Regions from separate parts of the Homo sapiens genome. Here all the other regions are linked to region 2. The links are contacts of gene promoters, found by promoter capture Hi-C in blood cells and fetal thymus (Javierre and others, 2016). All regions are on one chromosome and are shown on one strand. Each heading gives the region's core, a stretch centred on a gene start or on the middle of the fragment in contact. The rest is flanking DNA. Distances are from core to core; before and after follow the strand shown.

Region 1 (3,417 bases), core at 689-3,188, 250 kb before region 2:
TACAAAGGAGAGATGCTTAGTTCTCAAAGGGACACAGCAATGTTCCCACTGTATTGGAAGTTACGAGTATTACCTAGCCATTTTGGGTTCCTTTTGTCAACAACCAGAAGAAGAATCATCCTGATTATGAAGAGGAATTGATTTGCTGTGACATAATGGGGCAAGGAGGACTATATCGAAAATCTAGAGGATTTTTCCAGAGTGCCTCGTAATACTTCTATGTTCAGTACTAAAAGTTAAAGAAATATAGCAGCCTAATAAAAGAATGGATCACTAATGATTCAAACTCTTCAAAAGTAAGATTTGCATCTCCCACCAGGTAAAGAATGCCAACCAACCAACATTCCGTACTGTGCTGAAGGGAAATTAGAAGACAGTCTGAGAGGTATAGTGGGAATAAATTTGATAGTGAAAAAGAATTCAGTTCTAGCACTGGATCTGTCACATTATGTTAGACTGACTGTAATAGAAAGAATATGGGTTTGCAAGCCAAACAGAACAAAATTTGAATTATAGTTCCTCTGTTAGCTGTGTTACCTGGGGTAAGTTTCTAAACTTCTCTGAGCTTTCATATCCCTACTAGAGAATAATGGTTCCTTGGTAAGAGTTTTGTGAGAATTATATGGAACGAGTATGTAAAGTTTCTTGTGCAGCACCTTACTTGTAGTAAATACTTGATAAATGGCAGTCAATGTCTTAACAAAATAACAGCACAACAGTAATAATAGTAATAATACTCCCACATTGAGCCTGCCCTTTGCCCTCCTATCACTTTCCACCTTCACTGCAATTATTCCACACTGGACATGGAAAACCAAAATATTATCATGTGGGCTGCTGCTACCTCCACTTTTACTGTGATCGATGTATTAACTACACTTTTTTGCTTCAGACCATCCAGTACAGATGGGTATACAGAAAGAAGCAAGTAGTCTTAGTTCATTACATGTACATAACATCAGACTTCAAAACTCGATGCTCACCAGTAAGTCACAATTGTGGGTTTTTTTTTGTTTGTTTGTTTTTGCTATCAGGTTTATTCCAAAAAGACTTTCTCAGGCTTTTGACCTATCTCTTTATTACAATAGTGGTTATGACCTCTTAAGCCTCTGAGCCTGTAAACATGCTGTTCCTCCTGCTAAGAACTCATCTTTACTTTTTTATCTGGTTAGCTGCTCTTCCTCCTTCAGTTATTAGTGTGTACTGATGCCAGCCTGTCCCTTACCACTAGCTTAGGTGGGGTCTCCCTGCTGTATGTTCACATAGCCCTTGTAGTTTTACTCTTATAACCTTTATGTCACTCTACTTAATTACTTGTTCACTAGGTGAACAAGCTTCCCCACTAGGTTCTGTGTAAGGAAGAACACAGAACTCATCTTTAAAAAAAAAAGTTCTTAAGTGTCAATTTTTTAAATTTTTTTTTATTTCAATAGTTTTGTGGGGTACAGGTGGTTTTGGTTACATGGATAAGTCCTTCAGTGGTGATTTCTGTGATTTTGATGCACCCATCACCATTACCCAAGCAGTATACACTGTACCTAATATGTAGTCTTTCTTTCTTTTTTTTTTTTTTTTTGAGTTGGAGTCTTGCTCTGTCACCCAGGCTGGAGTGCAGTGGCCAATCTTGGCTCACTGCAACCTCTGCCTCCCAGATTCAAGCGATTCTCATGCCTCAGCCACCCGAGTAACTGCGACTACAGGCACACACGACCATGCCCGGCTAATTTTTGTATTTTTAGTAGAGATGGAGTTTTGCCATTTTGGCCAGGCTAGTCTTGAACTCCTGGCCTCAAGCGATCCATCCGCCCCGGCCTCCCAAAGTGCTGGGACTACAGGCATGAGCCACCGTGCCTGACCCCACTATGTAGTCTTTTATCCCTCACCCCCACCCAACCTTCCCCACACCTGAATCCCCAAAGTACATTATATCATTCTTACATCTTTGCATCCTCATAGCTTAGCCCCTGCTTATAAGCGAGAACATACTATATTTGGTTTTCCATTCTGGAGTTATTTCACTTAGAATAATGGCCCCCAGCTCCATCTAAGTTGCTACAAAGGACATTATTTTGTTTTTTATGGCTGAGTAGTATTTCATGGTGTGTGTATATATATATACACACCACATTTTCTTTATTTACTTGGGTGATGGGCATTCAGGTTTGTTCCATATTTTTGCAGTTGCAAATTGTGCTTCTGTAAACGTGTGTGCACGTGTCTTTTTCATATAATGAATTCTTTTCCTTCGAGTAGATACACAGTAGTGGGATTGGGATTGCTGGATTGAATGGTAGATCTACTTTTAATTCTTTAAGGAATCTTCATATTGTTTTCCATAGTGGTTGGACTAGTTTACATTAGCACCAGCAGTATAAAAGTGTTTTCTTTTCACCACATCTACACCAACATCTATTGTTTTTTCACTTCTTAATTATGGCTATTCTTGCAGGAGTAAGTTGGTATCTCATTGTGGTTTTAATTTGCATTTCCCTGATAATTAGTGATGTTGAGCATTTTTTGATATGTTTGTGGGCTGTTTGTATAAGCTTTTGAGAATTGTCTATTCACATCCTTTGCCCACTTTTTGATGGGATTATTTGTGTTTTTCTTGCTGATTTGTTTGAGTTCTTTGTAGATTCTGGATATTAGTCCTTTGACAAATACATAGTTTGTGAATATAGAAACTCATCGTTTTTATTCATCACTCTACCATCAGCCTAGAACAGTGTCTGGCAAATCCTCATGTACTACTAACCACAAGTTTGTGTGTTTCTATTATTTTTAAAAGTGGCTGTAGTTTTTTGGGGTTTGTTTTTTTGTTTGTTTGTTTTTTTTGAGACAGATTCTTGCTCTGTCACCCAGGCTGGAGTGCAATGGAGTGATCTCGGCTCACTGCAACCTCTGCCTCCCAGGTTCAAGAGATTCTCCTGTCTCAGCCTCCCGAGTAGCTGGGATTACAGGTGCACACCACCATGCCTGGCTAATTTTTTGTATTTTAGTATAGATGGGGTTTCACCATGTTGCCCAGGCTGGTCTCAAACTCCTGAGCTCAGGCAATCCACCCACCTCGGTCTCCCAAAGTGCTAGGATTATAGGCGTGAGCCACTGTGCCCAGCCTAAGGGCGGTTGTAGTTTTAAAGTCCTGTTTTATTATTGATCTATTAAATTTATTCAGCAGATATTTGAGAACCTACTACTTAGGTGCTGGTGATAGAGCAGTGAACAAAACAGACAAGGTCCCTTCTGTCATGGAGCTTACATTCCAGTTGGGGGAGACAGATTTTAAAAGTATGTAATATGTCAGGTAATGATTAAATGCTAAAGGGAAAAAAAAGCAGAGTAAGGGCTAACTGGCAGGAAGTAGAAGTTAATGCAACCAACCGCATCTCAGCTCACTGCAACCTCCGCCTGCTGGGT
Region 2 (3,242 bases), core at 17-2,516:
AAGTAGGTATAAGTATGCATTTATATATATGCATATAAACACACATACATATGTGTGTGTGTGTTTTTCTTCAATAAAAATAAAATTGTAGTAAGGACTTTTTATTTAGATAAATATGTCATTTCAATGGCTATGTAATAGTTCAATTTTGGATATACAATAATTTAACCAGTGTCTTATTAATAAGCATTTAGTTATTTCCATTTATTCTCTATTATAAACATTGCAATGATGGCAACTATTTTAGAAGTTACAAGAATCTTAAAGTGTGTTTTCTTAAGTAGTTTTCTTTAAATATTTTCTTCTACAAGCTGGCACTAAGACAAGATAGTTTTGGATTGCCACCAAAGTTGGCAATCATCAATAAGTATCCAAAATATTTTAAACATTTTTCACCTTAATAGATGACACTCTAACTTCAATAAAATATGTCATTTCAGTTTCGAGTTCCTTTGTAGCCCACAAAGCCTTCATTCTGATCAAATGGATTCATTTATTTGGAGGGGCCTAGTGCATTGCTGCCTTCCTATGGTAGCACTTGCTGCTTTTCCTGGCTAAAGAAGCTGGAAATCACTCCTCTTTCTCACCACTGATCACATGTAATACAGAATTAAACGTTCAGCTCAAATCCTACTTGATCTATAATCTCTTCATGACCTCTCAGCATGAAGTGATTTGTCCTCTCATTGAAGTCCTTTACCACATATTTGTATCACTTTTGACAATTAAATATATACTGTCTTGTAACTTGCACTTTTGTGTTTTCAGATGTTTCAAATTTGCTTATTATTTCCCCTTTCTATAACTATAGAGCGTACTAAGAGGCTGTTGAAGGAAGAGATCAGTCTCACTGTCTTCGTAGCACTGTACCTTACACACAGGAGGAGCCTGGTAAATATTTTTGATTTACTACAATTACAGTAAATCACAGCCTTGTATTAGTAAAATTCTTGTTCAGTTCAATGCCTCTGCATATATAAGCACATAAAAAGAACTATTTTTAAAAAATCACTTTTATCAAGATATTAACATAAAACATTTGTTGCTGACTATAGAGTGGCATTGTTGTAACTGAACTATGTAATATTTAAATCAAAATTATATATTTAAGATTATTTTCTATGTTTTTACAACCTTTAAATTATCAATTAAAATTGTTTGCATAAAGGTTGAATTACTTACCTTGCAAAACCTTAAGTGGAAGCACAGAAATAACAGGAAAACATGAAGAAGCTTCATGTTGGAGGTGTTCGGGGTCTTTGTCTCTGCTGAGAACTCTTTTCCACTCCAGGTATTCTTTTGAAATTTAATTTTTAACCTCTGAAAAAATGTTTCAAAAGAACAAACCTCCTAAAGAGCTTTGTACTTTTGAACTCTGAAAGAATTTGGCTGAAATCCAGAGAGATTTACCGTAACTGAAACCAAAAAATGGCCTTCCCATTAAAGAGCTGAGGGAGGTGACCAATAGGAACTTGTTTCCACCAGAAGAGACTGATTTCCTCCCACCCTGTTAATTGCAATGACTCAATTCTGTATTCCAGGGAAGACAGAAATTATATTGGAAGCAATTTTTTGGTTTTTTTTTTGTACAGTAAAAATATAATTTTTTAAACTTAAGGTTGAAGACTAGGAGACAGTAAGAATAAAAGTAGACCATATAGTGAAGGCTGCAAAATACATTTAAAACTCTAGAAACCAGCTTCTTTACCATGCATTTGTTGTGCTGTGATCAAATTGTATTTTTGGAGTACAAGAAATTTTAAAAACAAGTATTCTTGTGCCAGTACCAACTATCATGCAGGGTTTATCTATTTATGAAATAAATCTGTGATAGCAGAAATGCTGACACAGTTGGGTTCATCAGAAGCAGACTTGAGACAGTGAGTGTGGGGCACAAGTGTTTGTTAGGGATCGATATCCATACAAGGAAGGGAGGGGAAGCAGGGGTGAACAGAGGTAGAAGTTGAACTGGAGTGAGTGTGACCTGTCACAGTGCCCCTGATTTCAGTATAAATGGCTGGGCCATTATATTCTGCCTTGCTTGGTCCCCTACTATATATTGCCCAGGAAGGGCATACACTTAGGTGAGACAGTTTTCTGTAGCTAAGGCAGACACAGAAGGATCTGACAGTTATGTGCTATCAGGAGGAGGTATCTTCTGACTACACTCTTTACAGCCAGGTAGCAAGACCTTCCTTGACAAGGGTTCTGGGAAACTCATCTCTGTGTCTTTCAGAGTACATACTTGCACCTCTTAGATCTATGTTCCATATACACTCCAGGAGTGGCTCCTTAAACATTTCAGTGGGTCCCTATTCTTGAGAGAAAACTTAGAAGAGGAAGTTAATGGGAAAAACTACAGCTCCTACCCTTGCAGTTGATCTTGGGGCTGTAGTTGAAACTTACCCTTGGCCCCCTTCCTATCCATTTTAGATTCCCTTTACCTTGACCTCCCACCTCTGCTGGTCTCGGTGACTTACTGGATGACATGTCCCACACTCTCTTTCAGGAGTGGTCTGAGCCCCTGGTTACCTTTTGTTTCTCAGGCAAAAGTTGCCATTTTTATCCCTACTGTCACAAGAGGCAGGCTGGACATGGTGGCTCACTCCTGTAATCCCAGCACTTTGGGAGGTCAAGGCAGGAGGATTGCTTGAGGCCAGGAGTTTGAGATGAGCCTGGGCAACACAGGGAGAGGTTGAGGCTGCAGTTAGCCATGATTGCACCACTGCACTCTAGCCTAAGTGACAAAGAGAGACCCTCTCTTAAAAAAGAAACCAAAAAAAGCAAAAAATAAGAGGTACCCCAGTAGGTTATGTGGGTTCTACACATCTTCCTCCCTGCCCACATTATAGTAATAGCAGCCCTACTTCCTCGGAATGATCAGGGCCAATTACCCTTGTGGATTCTGACTCTTTCTTGCTAGTTCCTAGACACAAAGAGCCCAGCGTACCCCAGGCAACAGCTCTGGTTTATAATTCCATGGGACTCTTGCTTGCCCCTGGTGAAAGTATAGTCCTTTGGAGACCAAGATAACGAACCCTGCAGAGTCTACAACTGTGGAGACAAGATGCACAAAGCCCCCAGTTGGTCAATGGTGGTGATGGTAAGTGTGGTAATTCTTGCCTTTATTCCTTGGTTCCCAGACCCAGGTATTCTTCCTATTGGGAACATAATGCTATATGAAAGTCTTTGATTGAATGTATATACTGCTTCCTGGAGGATAGCACCCCATTCTCACAAAG
Region 3 (3,592 bases), core at 783-3,282, 230 kb before region 2:
TGTAGTCCCCACTACTCGGGAGGCTGCGGCAGCAGAACCGCGTAAACCTGGGAGGTGGAGCTTGCAATGAGCGGAGATCGCGCCACCACACTCCAGCCTGAGCGACAGAGTGAGACTCCATCTCAAAAAAAAAAAAAAAGGAAGAGTGGTAGAAACAAAACCGATTTAGCAATGCTAGGAAAAGGTTGTTTCTCTTAATGGGGGAGAAAAGTATGTATAGGATGAGGGAGTCCTGGCTTGGTAGTTGTGTACAAAGGATCTGGAAGTTTCCGTTGATCCACTCATGAATGATGGATTCTAGAAGCTAGTATGGCTCCTAACTAATTGAAGAGAAATGCAGCATCTGATTACAGCAAGAAACAGTTCCATTTCATTACATTGGGATTGTCACATTGATTGTCAGACTGAGTCAAGGGCATTGTGTTTTGTTACTGGGGCAGTACTTTACAAAGAACACTAACAAAGCTGGACAGGGAGGTGCATTCAGAAGATGATTAAGATGGTGAGAGTTCTTGTAGGAGATGATTAAAAGGGTTGAATTTTTTTTTTTTTTTTTTTTTTTGAGACAGAGTTTCGCTCTGTTGCTCAGGCTGGATTGCAGTGGCGCAATCTCGGCTCACTGCAGCCTCCACTTCCCAGGTTCAAGCTATTCTCCTGCCTCAGCCTCCCAAGAAGCTAGGATTACAGGCGCGCCACCACCATGCCCGGCTAATTTTTGCGTTTTTAGTACAATCAGAGTTTTACCGTGTTGGCCAGACTGGTGTTGAACTCCTGGCTCTGCCTCCCAAAGTGCCAGGATTATAGGTGTCAGCCACTGTGCCCGACTGGGGCTGCATATTTTTAATCTAGTGAAAAAGAAGCTGAGGAAAAGCAAGATATTTGCATTCAAATATCTGAGATGGTATCATGTGAAAGAAGGTTGTCATTCTGTGTTGCTTCCAAGCAAGGAAATTACTCCCAAGATAGAGCAGAATAGGTAGGCAGAGTTCAGCTCAGTTCAAGAAAATTTTTGTATCCATTCTGGCTGTTCCCTAATAGACTGCTTCTTGAAGTGTAGGACTCCCAAGTTTCTAAAATAACTCAGGCAGAAGCTAAAGAAGCACTGGAAAAACTGCCAACACAGCTAGAGCCTGGTGCTGGAGAAGCCATCTATATCTATGCAATAGGAGCCTGTGAAGTGAACACACCCGAACCAGGAAGCAAAATCTTTTCCTCCGTCAGTGGCTCTCTAGTGTCCTCTACTGAAAAAACTTCAGTGCCAGTCAGCAAAGGAAAAATATTTAAAGGTCCCAGATCTATTTTCACAGAGCAGTCAAAAAGGGAGAATTTGAGGGCATATACAAGACGTTAATAACCATCATATGAGGAATGAGACAGCAGCTGTTGTGCAGTACTTGAAGGTGGCAGCTGCACTCATGAGCACTGCCACGCTGGTCAGGCCAAGGAGGGATGGGAGACAGAGCCGGACTGGTCAAGCACTGATAACGAAGTGCTCATTTTAAATACAGTGTTAGTGCCTAGAATAGAAATCAGGGAAGCAGCACTTGTTCCAGGGACAGAGAATCCAACCCAGAGATGGATTGGGTAAGACAGAGATCCAAAAAAAGTATGAGACTTAACAATTGCATGAGAAGTTAGACTGAGTAGAAAGAAAGATGGGTAGATTATTGAGAAGCCAAAAAGTTAGCTTAAATAGGAGCATTTGAGACCCAGGGCTGCCGCAGGTCAGAATGGAAGCTGAGGTGATCTTAATCTCTACGCTTCCTTTCATCGCTGATGTTCTCTGAGGTCCCTTGGGTACCCAGCTTTGATATCTATCACAATGTCAGAAACCACTGAGGTTTGGAGATTGATAAACTCAGATGCCTTGCTAAAATTAGCCTACTGCTGTTCATCCCTTGTTCTGCCCGCTCCTTACCATCTGCCTTCCCCACCAAGGAAAAGCTTTGGCTTATTTATAGTGTAATAACTATTTAGTGAGAGTAATTTTGTTTTAGCTTTTTATTGATATGATATTATTAATCTTTCTGTAAAAGGTCATTGGGGGTTAGACTGTTTGTTGTGAGGTTTTGCCTGAAACCAACTCAAGTGTACTACTCATAACTGTTGTTCATTTGAGCTTAAGCTTGGCTGCTGTACTGACAGGTTATAGTCCATCTTGACATATGAAATTCACTTTATAACGAATCCAGCCACATTCGTTTAATTAGTTTATTCAATTTAGTGGGATTGTGCTGCCATTTAATTAGTGGAGTCTGAATTTGTGCCAGTGACTAAGCATCGTAATCAACAGTTGTTATGCCTGCAATTATGTGAAAACTGACACCAAAGTCTAACCTCTCTTGGAGAGAAAATATACCACCTTAATGTATCTTTCACACTAAATTAGGATGAAATATCTTTATAGTTATCCCATTTATGTAAGGCTATTAGACATTAGAAAAAGGTCATTTCATAAGTATAGCAGTGACCATTAAAATTATTAATATTATAATAGCATAGTAATATTCTTGGTTTTGAAACTTTAGAACAGCTTTGTAGTCTGTGCTAGTCACACTGCTTTCCTGGGAACCTTTTCACTCTTATCTACCTGGTTTAGTCGAATTGGCCATCTTAGTCCAACCTGACCTTCATTCAATTGGCCACCTGACCCAGGAATTTAGAACTAAGTCTAGGATTCTCACCTCTGCTGGCTGCTCTTTTGAATAGTGGAGTTGTACTTGGGGCCATTTGGTGGTGACCATTTTCTACCATGTGGACCAAGAAGCAGTAACAATTCATTTTATAGTGATAAGCAGAATGATGCTGACAGGCAGATAGGAGGAGACGAAATACGGATCAAGAGGACTTCCCAACCTCAATATAACACTCCAGTTCCTGATCCTGAGTCCATTCCTGAGGCTTAATTAAATCCTTCTATGTAGTCTCCGTTAGAGACATTCCTAAGTCCTCAGAGTAAATTTCCATTCTTACTTATGGTAAGTCAAGTAGGTATTTGTTTCTTTCATCCAAATAACAAATATATATGAAGTGATCATTCAAACTTATCAGAAAAACATTAAGAAATGGGTAAAAGACATGAGTGGTTTTCAGAACAGGGAATAAAAATGCAAATAAACATGAAAAGTGGTCAGCCTCACTGATAGTCAAAAAAATGCAAAAACAATAGTAGAAAAAGATAACATTTGCCTTTTTTTTTTTTTTTTTGCCTGTCAAATTGCCAAAGAAAAACAAAAAACTCAAAGCGTAAAGCATGGCATGATGTGGGAACTCTTTTGTGTTGCTAGTGAGAGTGTAAAGTGATTGTATAATTCATGGTCCAACAGGAAACAGATGGCCCACTTAGATTAGGATAATTAGAGGGAAGTTTATACACAAAGGATGATTCACAGAGATGTGGGCGCAGGGGAACCACTAGGGATGGTGTACTAACCTTGGACTACTATTGATGGGCAAGATGAAGGGGTTGTGGACAACAACCCTGTGTCAAGGGCCAAGCCAGATACTCAGAAATTCTTTCTTTTCTTTCTTGTTTTTTTTTGAGATGGAGTCTCACTTTGTTGCCCAGGCTGGAGTGCAGTGGCGCAATCTC

What was found. Contacts are between HindIII fragments. The CHiCAGO score rates a contact against its expected background, and 5 or more counts as called.
Region 1: a contact is called between a fragment that was not itself captured here and the fragment with the promoter of CFI in region 2, in 2 of 17 cell types (naive B cells and total B cells). The highest score is 6.1, in naive B cells.
Region 3: a contact is called between a fragment that was not itself captured here and the fragment with the promoter of CFI in region 2, in 1 of 17 cell types (erythroblasts). The highest score is 5.7, in erythroblasts.

The regions. Positions count from the first base shown.
Region 1 is chr4:109,549,128-109,552,544 of GRCh38, forward strand. No RefSeq gene overlaps it. Among named protein-coding and RNA genes, the nearest start is that of MCUB, 9.4 kb to the right of the region's middle. The HindIII fragment of the contact is 1,212 bases long and covers 1,333-2,544 here.
Region 2 is chr4:109,800,733-109,803,974 of GRCh38, forward strand. CFI (complement factor I) reads right to left here and starts at 1,267. Exons shown (of 13, transcript NM_000204.5): 1 at 1,183-1,267. The coding sequence starts at 1,239. LOC124900757 (a long non-coding RNA gene) reads left to right here and starts at 2,940. Exons shown (of 2, transcript XR_007058226.1): 1 at 2,940-3,103. The HindIII fragment of the contact is 11,045 bases long and covers 1,232-3,242 here.
Region 3 is chr4:109,573,329-109,576,920 of GRCh38, forward strand. The region is part of intron 1 of MCUB (mitochondrial calcium uniporter dominant negative subunit beta); the gene reads left to right. Among named protein-coding and RNA genes, the nearest start is that of MCUB, 15 kb to the left of the region's middle. The HindIII fragment of the contact is 181 bases long and covers 1,943-2,123 here.